Linked DNA regions of Homo sapiens: region 2 is linked to region 1. The links are contacts of gene promoters, found by promoter capture Hi-C in blood cells and fetal thymus (Javierre and others, 2016). All regions are on one chromosome and are shown on one strand. The core of a region is centred on a gene start or on the middle of the fragment in contact, and the rest is flanking DNA. Distances in the headings are between cores, read along the strand shown. Region 1 overlaps ZNF19 (zinc finger protein 19). Region 2 holds the start of ATXN1L (ataxin 1 like).

What was found. The method cuts DNA at HindIII sites, captures the fragments that hold promoters and counts their contacts. A CHiCAGO score of 5 or more calls a contact.
Region 2: a contact is called between the fragment with the promoter of ATXN1L here and a fragment that was not itself captured in region 1, in 1 of 17 cell types (non-activated CD4 T cells). The highest score is 5.5, in non-activated CD4 T cells.

The regions. Positions count from the first base shown.
Region 1 is chr16:71,483,164-71,488,822 of GRCh38, reverse strand. ZNF19 (zinc finger protein 19) reads left to right here. Exons shown (of 6, transcript NM_006961.4): 2 at 4,075-4,234. Among named protein-coding and RNA genes, the nearest start is that of ZNF19, 3.3 kb to the left of the region's middle. RefSeq lists a silencer at 4,199-4,478 and an enhancer at 4,046-4,955. The HindIII fragment of the contact is 3,354 bases long and covers 1,268-4,621 here.
Region 2 is chr16:71,842,759-71,848,417 of GRCh38, reverse strand. It overlaps ATXN1L (ataxin 1 like), which reads right to left and starts at 2,442. Exons shown (of 3, transcript NM_001137675.4): 1 at 2,314-2,442; 2 at 347-408. RefSeq lists enhancers at 1,955-2,024, 1,826-2,597, 2,815-2,864, 2,598-3,370 and a silencer at 2,245-2,554. The HindIII fragment of the contact is 5,556 bases long and covers 1,900-5,659 here.

The DNA.
Region 1 (5,659 bases), core at 1,695-4,194:
TGTTAGTTTGTTTTGGTTTTTTTGAGACGAAGTCTCGCTCTTGTCACCCAGGCTGGAGTGCAATGGCACCATCTCTACTCACTGCAACCTCCGCCTCCCGAGTTCAAGTGATTCTCCTGCCTCAGCCTCCCGAGTAGCTGGGATTACAGGTGCCTGCCACCACACCCGGCTAATTTTTGTATTTTTAGTAGAGACGGGGTTTCACCATGTTGGTCAGACGGGTCTCAAACTCCTGACCTCAGGCGATCCGCCTGTCTCGGCCTCCCAAAGTGCTGGGATTACAGGCGTGAGCCACTGTGACCAGTCTGAACTCACTTTTAATTTTAGGAGCTTGTTTTGTAGATTCTTTGGGACTTCTTATACAGATAATCATGTTGCCTGCAGATAGTAACAGTTTTGTTCTGAGTTTCGAATCTGTGTGTCTTTCATTTCATTTCTTTTTCTTTTTCTTTTTTTTTTTTTTTTGAGATAGTCTCGTTCTGTCACCCAGGCTGGAGTGCAGTGGCATATTCTCAGCTTACTGCATCCTCCACCTCCCGGGTTCAAGCAATTCTCATGTCTCAGCCTCCTGAGTAGCTGGGATTACAGGCACACACCACCACACCTGGCTCATTTTTATATTTTTAGTAGAGATGCGATTTCTCCATGTTGGCCAGGCTGGTCTTGAACTCCTGGCCTCAAGCAATCCATCCACCTTGGCCTCCCAAAGTGCTGGGATTACAGGTGTGAGCCACTGTGTCTGACCTATGTGCCTTTTATTTCTTTTTCTGGCCTTGCTCTTGCTAAGACTCCCAATATGATGTTAAATAGTAGTGGTAAGAGCAGACATACCTGCCATGTTCCCAATCTTGGAGGGAAAGACATTCTGTCTTTCATCATTAAGTATGTTTGCAGCTGCAAGGAGAGAATAATATTGAATTATATGTCAGTATAGATACTGCAGCACAATATTTAGCTTAACTACATATTTTTTTGCAGCCAAGGCAAAAATGACTTTGTGCATGAAACTTAAGTTCCACCACAGCCTCAGCCTATTTGTGGCTGGGATTTTCAGACATATGGGAGAGAAGTTAGTATTTTCAAGTCAGGATTAAGTAACAGTAAATATGCCATGATCATACACCATACTCTGGGTATCATGATCTGATATTACTTATAGCTTCAGTTAAAGATACTGTAGGAGTTAGAGGGAGAGCTGGATAGTTAGGCTGTGAGGTGACCAGAAAGAAAGGTGGTTCCCATTGGAATCTAAGGAATGGTCAAAGCTTGAAAGTAATTATGTTTGATGGTAGAGATTGTGACAGACATGAGTATGAGTATTGTATTAGTCCGTTGTCACAGTGCTATACAGATATACCTGAGACTGGGTAATTTATGGAGAAAAGAGGTTTAATTGGCTAACAGTTCCACAGGCTGTACAGGAGGCATGGCTGGGGAGGCCTCAGGATACTTACAATCATGGTGGAAAGCAAAGGGGAAGCAGGCACAATCTTCACATGGCCAGCAGGAGAGAGACAGCAAAGGAGGAAGCGCAACACACTTCGAAACAACCAGATCACATGAGAACTCACTATCACGAGAACAGCAAGGGGGAAATCCGCCCCCATGATCCAATCACCTTCCACCATGTTCCTCCCCCAACACTGAAGATCATAATTCAACATGAGATTTGCCTGGGGACACAGAGCCAAAACATATCAAGTATACATTTCCTTAGAGGTGATACATTGGCTGGGAAGACAGGTCAGTGTGAATTAGCTATTATTATTAATGATCTTGAAAACTCTCTGGGAGACTTTCCAGACAAATGAGAGTGGAAATTTTCTTCCTTTCCACTCCCTGCAAAACAAAAATAAGTTATTCCCAACTCTTTTTGTTTTTAATTTTAGTGTTCCCATCTTCTGGCCAAGAATATACTCAACTCTTCACCAAGTAAACATACGGGTTCCCATGTTTCTAAAAACCGATAAAATTAACAATAGAGACTTGTTTTTGTTTTATATCCAGACTTAATGGTCATTTATGTAATGTAAATATCCAGAATAGGCAAATCTATAAAGAAAGTGGTTGTCTAGAATTGGGGGAAGAAGAGAGGTATGTACATGTGTGTCTATTAATTTTCTATTGCTGCTGTAACAAATTGCCATGAGTAGTGGCGTAAAACAACACTAATTTATCTTAGAGTTTTGGAGGTCAGAAATCCAAAATGGGTCCCACTGGTATAAATTCAGGATTTAGACTAAGGAGAGAATCTGTTTCCTTGCCTTTTTCATCTTCTGGAGGCCACCCACTTTCCTTGACCCTTGGCCCCTTCCTCCATCTTCAAAGCCAGTGAGGTTGGGCCAAGTCCTTCTTGTGCTGTCATTTTTGTGATTCTCTTTCAATTCCCTCTTTCACGTTCAAGAACTCTTATGATTACACTGGGCCCACCTGAATAATCCAAGATAATCATCTTTTTTTTTTTGACAGGGTCTCGCTTTGTTGCCCAGGCTGGAGTGCAGTGGCTCAATCAAGGCTCACTGCAGCCTTGACCTCCCAGGCTCAAGTGATCCTCCCAACTCAGCTAGTAGCTGGGACTACAGGCGTGTGCCCACACCTGGCCAATTTTTGTTCCTTTTTGGAATTTTTTTTTTTTTTTTTTCGGTAGAGACAGGGTTTTGTCATGTTGCCCAGGCTGGTTTGAACTCCCAGGCTCAAGTGATCTGCCCACCTGGGCCTCCCACAGTGCTGGGATTACAGATGTGAGCCACTGTGCCTAGCCCCAAGATAATCTTAAAGTTGGCTGACTAGCAATCTTAATTCCACCTGCAACCTCAATTTCCCTTTGTCATGTAACTTAATGTACTCACAGGTTCTAGAGATTAGGACATATACATCTTTGAGGGGAACAAAACACCATTCTGCTTACCAGAGGGAAAATGGAGAGTGACTGCTGATGGTTATGAGGTTCCTTTGGGGAGATGAAAATGTCCTGAAACTGATTGTGGTGATGTTTGCGCAAGTCTCTGAACACACTAAAACCTATTTAATTTTATACTCTGCATTGATGAATTGTATGGTGTGTGAATTAAATGTTAATAAGGCAGGTGTGTGTGTGTGTGTTCAGTATTTTTGAAACTAAATTCTTTCACCTTCTTGCCTGAAACCAGCTCCTCTTCTTCAATTCCTGATCTCAGCTAATGGCACCTTCATCTATCAGGTCATCCAAAATTCATGGCTATTATAGATTGCTCTGGCTGCCTTGTATTCAGTCATTAAAAAAAAAAATGTCCACCGTTTTCACTTCCTAAATAGTTACTTAATATATCCCTCCTTAGACCTGGTCTTTCTTTCTTTTTGTTTTTTTTTGTTTTTTTGGTTTTTTTTTTTTTTGAGATGGAGTTTTGCTTTTGTCGCCCAGGCTGGAGTGCAATGGCACAATCTCGGCTCACTGCAACCTCCACCTCTCGGGTTCAAGCAATTCTCCTGCCTCAGCCTCCCGAGTAGCTGGGATTACAGGTGCCCGCCATTACGCCTGGCTAATTTTTGTATTTTTAGTAGAGACGAGGTTTCACCACGTTGACCAGGCTGGTCTCGAACTCCTGACCTCAGGTGATCTGCCCGCCTTGGCCTCCGAAAGTGCTGGGATTACAGGCGTGAGCCACCGCGCCTGGCCTGCTGACCTGGTCTTTCTTAACGTGTCTGGGTCTTTACCTCTAAGGAGGACAGCTTTTTTGTGCAAAGACCCTTTGGCAGTCTGGTGACACCTTCAAAACCAATGAACATACAATTAAACAGTTTTTTAGAATTTGTGATACAGAAATATAAGTGCAGCTTTACCAACGTGATGAAATGTAATGACAAGACTTGAGGTGGGCCCGATAACAACAAGGACAATTTCAAATTAGTGACGAGAATAGCCATATTCTGAGATCTGCATCAACTGTAATGTGATATGAAAATATCTGTGATTTCTATCGGTGACAGTCACAGATACGGCTGATACTACAGTAGTTTGTTGCCAACATAGAAGAAAATGCTAAATTTCGGTTAGAGATTAGCGAAAACAATGATATACTTTCTTTCCTATTCAAGGTCTCTGAGGATCCCCGGGTGGAAACTCCTCCCGGGAGTAAAACCACACAACCACTGAGAAGACCGCTCCGGCATCCTAGAGAGTACGCGTGTGAGCCTGGGTGCAAGGCCAAAGTAGTGACGCACTTCCGTTCACGCACCGCTTTCTGTTTTTCCTGAGGTGAGTGTTGGGGTTTGTCGCCTAGGAGTCCTTGCTAGGCTCAGGCACTGCACCTCTAGAGAAGGCTGTCGGCTTCGTCCCTGCTGCCTCAGTGGAGGGAGACAGGGCGGCCCCTCCGGGACCGGGGAGCGGAGGCTGCTCGCGGGCCGGTCCCGGTCTCCCTCTGGTGCCTTCGCTCCCCCACGCCTGCATCGGCGCCTTGGGAAATGGAGGCTGTGGATATGGGCGGCTGGATGGAAGGGACGCCTCTGTTCTCGACGCCGCCCAAACCCCATCTGCTCATTGGGCCACAGCTGCTTACTGAGCAGCTATGTGCCAGTTCCTGCTCTAGATTCCGGGGATGCAGCGGTGAATGAGGCGGGGCGTGGGCCCCGCCCCCAGGAAGCTTTCCGCCCAATGGGAAAGTCATGTATTAATCAAATCTGGTTATTTCACTCCACCTGCCCGTGACTTAGTGCACGTAGATCGAAGACCAAGTTCTTGACGTGCACAAAGTGTGGCTTTGTCCCTTGTGACTTCTTCAGCATCATCTAACAGCACACTCTCCTTTGACTGCTACTACAGTGTTCTTGATCCTTCACTACTAGAACATGGCTTTTGCGTATGCTGTTACTTTTGTAAAGATTTCCTTCATACCTTAGTTAATTTATTTTCTTAAGCTTCCCATCCACGTTAGTTTCCCCTGGCAGTGATTTAAATTGTGGACTTAAAAGTTATTTGAGAGAATCTTGATTAATGTGTCTTTCCTTTAGACTAAGCTCTGCGAGGGACAGGATCATGCCCCTTCTCTCTCTACTTCATCTGTTGTGTGTCACACGTGGCCTTGCATGAAATATGTATGAGATAAATATTTGTTGAATGAAGAAAGCACAAATCAATATATAATTTCAAACTGGATTAAGTGGTATATAGGAAAAGGAGTACGGTGCGAGTGGAGTGTTTAACAGAGACACCTGACCTGGTCTGTAGAGCGATCATGATCTGAAGGTGAAGGGTGGATAGATTACTGGAGAGAATGGCGGCTAGATTACTGGAGAGAATGGCAGGCAGAGAATCTCAGTTGTAATGGTTCTGAGATTGGAGAAGAGTAGTTCATACAGAAGAAACAGCAGGTATGAAGGTCCTGAGTTAGCACAGAGGAAACTGAAAGAAGGCCATTGTAGCTAAACTAAGAGAAAAGAGGGTGGCGGCACAAGATGAGGCTCGCAGAAAACAGCATCATGCATTAAGTCCCTGTAGGGAAGATGCTGGCTTTTTATAGAATATTGCTGTTTAACTAGAATACAAAGTGTCTGTAAGAGATGATATAGTTAAAACAATAACCCAGATGTTTTAGTGTGTTGAGTTGGCCCTTCAGGGTCCTTTGGTAATCAGTTTCTGGTTTTCATGGCCCTTGAGTGGGGCAATGAACAAAAAAGATGCCTG
Region 2 (5,659 bases), core at 1,193-3,692, 360 kb before region 1:
TAGCTCCTTCTCCACTGTAGGTCTGCTCCAGGCACCACTCCATGAAATTCTGGTTCCATTCCTCTAAACATGCCTGTTTTTTTCCCCGTATCTGTATGATTCATAAGAAAGTTCTCTTTCCCTTTTCTCTTATTGTCACCTTTCACAAATGCTTTTGTCCATTGTTATAAAGCAACTTTTTGGTCTGAACACTTCAGTGCACATGAACTTTGCTGCCTATTTCTTCCAACCAGGTTCCAGTTCTTTGGATCTGAAAAGAGCTTTCTATATTACATTCTGTTCTGTTTTTCCACTGTGACATCCCAGATATTTTCCTGAAACAAGGAATTCAAAGTGCCGGTATTACCTGAGTTTCCAGTGGTGCTTCTGAGCAGCTGTAGTAAGTGTCCTCCCGGCTGGCTCGGGAGCCTAGAAGATAGAAACAGGAATGGAGTAAGCGGCTGCCTGACCTCTAATTCTCCCCAGGGTCACCATGAAAGGTAATTCCAAAGCATTAGAGTATACACGTCCTTGCCTCATCTTCTTCTCCACAGGTAAACAGTACATTTACCCAGAGTGCCCAGGCAGTTGAACAGAGAGAAAAACACCTCTAATGCTCCAACTTGTAAGAAGACATCCCTGAAAAAAAATTTCCATGTATCAAATTTCATTGGTTTTCCGTAACATCATTTCCCTAACATCTACCTGTGCCTGTTCCCCAAAGGTTAAATTTGCTCCAATCCAAATTTCAGATAAACGCACAAATAAAAATGGAAGCTTTAACACTGTTCCCATATGAACAATGGGAAGCAGGAAAAATCAACTCTATGGATTTCCCCTTTATTCTGGGCCTATGAAAACATAAATGTGGAGTTATTTAAATGAAAAAAAGCAGCAGTAGATGAAAAAGAACAATTATTTATGTTTCTGGGGCAGAAAAAGAGGTCAGGGGGGAGTCACTCAAGGAGAAGACTTATTAAGAGATTTTCAGGGTTAAAAAAAAATGAGCATATGTGTGTGTGTATGTAAAATTTTCTGAGTGACAGTATACCAAGTGCTGAATCAGGTATGAAAGAAACTGAAAATATTGCCTTGGTCCTCAGCTGGCTAACACTGGTGAAACAAAACTACCACTAAACCATCACTATGTGAATCTACACTTGCCAGAAACGCAAAGCGAGAAAGAATGGAGCCTTAACCTCTGAAAACAGAGAAGGCAGTACAGATGAGTGAGTGCTCTGAGAAACTGACTATCCTGTCCAAGTCCTATAGAACACTCTAAGCCTCAACCCAAACCGAATGCAACATTTCTCTCTTAAGATTGGCAAGGTGCAGGTGTACACAAAAGGTGGAAGGATAGGAAAACACAGTGGGAAAACAAATTCCTAATTCCACAAACACATATTATTACACAGTGGCATAAATAATGACTCTTTTCTCCACCAGCAGCTTTAATAACTGAAAAGCAGCTTGCTTTCTTCTTCATTCCCAACAGAAACTGGGGTCACACTTCAATCCCAAAATGATCCTTGCTTTCTGTAACGAAAACTTTAAAGAAAACCTGCCTCCAGGTCACCGAGAAGTTAGCAAACACAGGCTAGTAAAGGGACCGAAAGAGGCAAAAGGTCTGCAGAAAGGAAAACAAAGAGCCAAGCCTGTGCGCCAGGTTCCCACAACGCAAAACACACTTAAGAATCCGAAACCTCCGCCTCTCGAGAACCTCACTGAGCATCTCAAAGGGAAAACGCAGCTTGTGACCCCAACCGAGCTAACAGGCTGTTCAGGAGAGTTGCCAACGCTGCTAGCAGAGCCCGGAACCAAGCTCCTCATCACGCTTGGGTCGGAATCAAGGGGCTGAACCCAGCTGGAGACCCAAATTCTCTGCGGGCGAGAGGTGCGCCCGACAGAAAGGGAGAAGCTTGTCAGAGACTACGGTTATGGCTCCCAGTGGTCCCGCAATCCTTGATCCAACAAGGGTAGGGCTCGAAATTGGGAATTCTGCGTTTAGAGAGTAGGGGGTCCACCCTTCACCAAGGGGGCAGGGGCGAGGCCCTGCAGGCGACGCTTCCTTGTTTGGGGGCCCTTCCCGCCCCACAGACTCGGACACCTTGGCTCGCAGGCACACAGCCTCCGGGGCGCCGGGGCCTGAGGCCACCTTCCAGGACAGGCCAGAGAGAAGCGCGAGGGGGTCTAGGTGCGGCCTCTCCCCTCCGTCTGTCCACGGTTCATGGGCCCCGGCCCGCCGGAGCAACGGGCTCCTGAGGGCCACTTCCTCCGGAGCACCGACCCCAGGCCTGCCTGGCCCCGGCGGCCACCACTTCCAGGGACACTCACCAGCCCATTTCACAGCGCTTCCCAGGATCCACTCACTCGTCCCGGAGCCGCCGCAACCGCGGCCGCCGCCATCCCCGGCCCCGGAGCCGCCCCACACCCAGCGCCCCCCACAGCCGGGCGCCCGGAGATGGCGTCAAGCTCGTCCCGCCCCCGGCGCGGAGAGATTGCGTCACGGCCGGGGTGGGAGAGCAACGCCCAGGACTCCCCGGGAAGGGAGGGTGCCACACTGCCTTCGCGTCGGGCGTTCCCTCTGGTGGGTGAACAAACTCCTCTCCCTGGGACCGGGTCACGTGAATAGGGCTGGGCCCGGCCCCCTCAGCCTGACCCCACAATGACCCCGCAATCTTTCCACCTCAGTAAATTTTGGGGGTTCCCAAACAGAGCCCCGGGGCGTGGTCATCGGCGACCCCCCATTTCCTGGACTTCTTGTCCTGACTTGTGCAGCCCCTTCTGGGGAACTTCGGGGGACCCCGAGGTGACCTAGGCTCAGGAGAAAAGGAGATACCTCTTACCTCTTGGGGACCCAGGTGGAGATAGGAAGTCTTCTTTTTTTCTTTTCTTTCTTTTTTTTGGAGACAGTTTCGCTCTTGTTGCCCAGGCTAGAGTGCAATGGCACGATCTCGGCTCACCCAACCTCCGCCTGCCAGGTTCAAGCAATTCTCCTATCTCAGCCTCCCGAGTAGCTGGGATTACAGGCATGCGCCACCACACCTGGCTAATTTTTTGTATTTTTAGTAGAGACAGGGTTTCTCCTTGCTGGTCAGGCTGGTCTCGAACTCCCGACCTCAGGTGATCCCCACACCTCGGCCTGCCAAAGTGCTGGGATTACAGGCGTGAGCCACCGTGCCAGGTCAATAGGAGCTCTGTAAGTGTTGAGAAGTGGCCCCCGAGGGAGCTAAGAGTGAACCCCACTCAGGATCTAGGGGAAGGTGACAAGGAGTGGAACACCTGAAAGTTTAGAGAGAGCCCGGGGTTTAGTACAGTGAGAAGCAGCTTGGTTTAGTGGAAAGAGGGCTTGACTACTCAGTGAAATATTATTCATTACAAATTAACTAATTATTCATTACAAATTAACTGGTCAACTTCATAGTAACATGAACATCTGATTAACTTAAGTGAAGACAAAAGTGAGCGCCAGTTGAATTTATGTTTGAATAACAACTGTGTTTTTGTTGTTGTTTGTTTTAAAGTATTAGGTTGGTGCAAAAGTAATTGCGGTTTTGGCCACCGAAATGGAGACTTTCAGTTTCTTCAAACTCTGTTCAATAAATAACAATTGGGCCAGGCGCGGTGGCTCACGCCTGCAATCCCAGCACTTTGGGAGGCCAAGGCCGGCGGATCACGAGGTCAGGAGATCGCAGACCATCCTGGCTAACACGGCGAAACCCCGTCTCTACTAAAAATACAGAAAATTAGCCGGGCATGGTGGCGGGCACCTGTACTCCCAGCTACTCGGGAGGCTGAAGCAGGAGAATGGCATGAACCCGGGAGGCAGAGCTTGCAGTGAGCCGAGATCGTGCCACTGCACTCCAGCCTGGGCAATAGAGTGAGACTCCGTCTTAAAAAAAAAAAAAGAAAAAAAAAGATATGTCATTGCAGTTGCGTGTATGTGTGTGTGTGTGTGTACATATAATTTTTTTTTTTTTTTAGCCCTGTCGCCCAGGTTAGAGTGCAGTGGTGCCATCTTAGCTCACTGCAGCCTCAAATTCCTGTGCTCAAGCAGTCCTCCCACCTCAGCCTCTGGGGTAGGTGCGATGATAGGCATGCACTACCATGCCCAGCTAATTTTTTAAAATTTCTTGCAGAGACAAGGTCTTGCTATGTTGCCCAGGCTGGTCTTAGACTCCTGTGCTCAAGTGATCTTCCCTCCTCGGCCTCCCAAAGTGCTGACATTTCAGTCATGAGCCAACCACACCCAGCGTCGGTTGTATGTATTTCTGTGTATCTGTACAGAAAAGGAGTAGAACACATAACTAATTAACATTGGTTATTTTTGGGAAGGAAAGTGGAATTGGGTGGTGGTCAAAAGGCAAAGAAACAACTTATATTATTGTTTGAATATTTAGGAGAATATTATCTTAGAAATAAAAAAAGTAAGTTGAGATCCAGATACAATGCATGATCTCTAAGATTCTTTCTAGGGAAGCCTTAGATCTCAATTATATTTTCTCACCTGGATGGACACATAGGGCCATAAAAAATTATCAAGTACCACACAGACACACACACAGACACACACACACACGCACACATACACACAGCACAAATGGGAAAAAACATAGTGAAGTTACTGCTGTCATCTAAATCATCTGAGTGTTTTGCTTCATTAATATTAATATTGTTCATGACAGTCTCCTTCTCTCTCAGTTTGGCCAAGAAGGAAGTCCTGTGGTCACTCAGTGTGTCCGTTTTAGCACTAACTAGCATTCTGGTTTCTAGTTCATTTCTTAGCTCACTAAACTGGCATTAAAATAGTCAAGATAGGAACCCTTGGACTATCCAAGCATATTCAAGGATAGCTAGTTTCTCCCAGATCAAGATATACACTCAGAGCTGGGTTTTCTGTACAAATTTGAAAGAGTAGACACAGGTAGATGTAAGCAAAAAAAAAGTTTTATGGCTACCAACCATTAACATAATGATGTACATGATACAAAAGCATGTCCATTAAAAAGTAAAAACAGGATGTTCTGATTGGTGAAACACAGGTGATTTCCGGGTTTGGCACTGCAGTCCCAAAAGGGTGGGTCATATGTCCGCTGTATCCCATTCCCAAACTCTTTACTACTCTGAGTAATCTTTTTTTCTTTGGTTGTATATCCTGATGGTAGAAAGCTCCATAGCAACAGTTTGACAGGTATATTAGTGATAAGTAAACTAATAAAGTTTTTAGATTTATGGCACAAAAATAACCAAAAGTTACCTAATTTATCCAAATATCTGTATTATTTTTCTGGAATCTGGGTAACACCCCTATTTAAGCTATTTATATTCAGTAAACCAGGCCGGGTGTGGTGGCTCACGCCTGTAATCCCAGCACTTTGGGAGGCCAAAGCAGGTGAATCACCTGAGGTCAGGAGTTCAAGACTAGCCTGGCCAGCTTGGTGAAACCCCATCTGTACTAAAAATACAAAAATTAGTTGGGCATGGTGGCCTGTGCCTATAATTCCAGCTACATGAGAGGCTGAGGCAGGATAATCACTTGAACCCAGGCGGCAAAGGTTGCAGTGAGCCGAGATCGTGCCACTGCACTCCAGCCTGGGCAACAAAGTGAGACTCTGTCTCAAAAACACAAACAAACAAAAACTGATAAAGTAAATGTTTTTTTGTTTTTGATGTGTTTTAG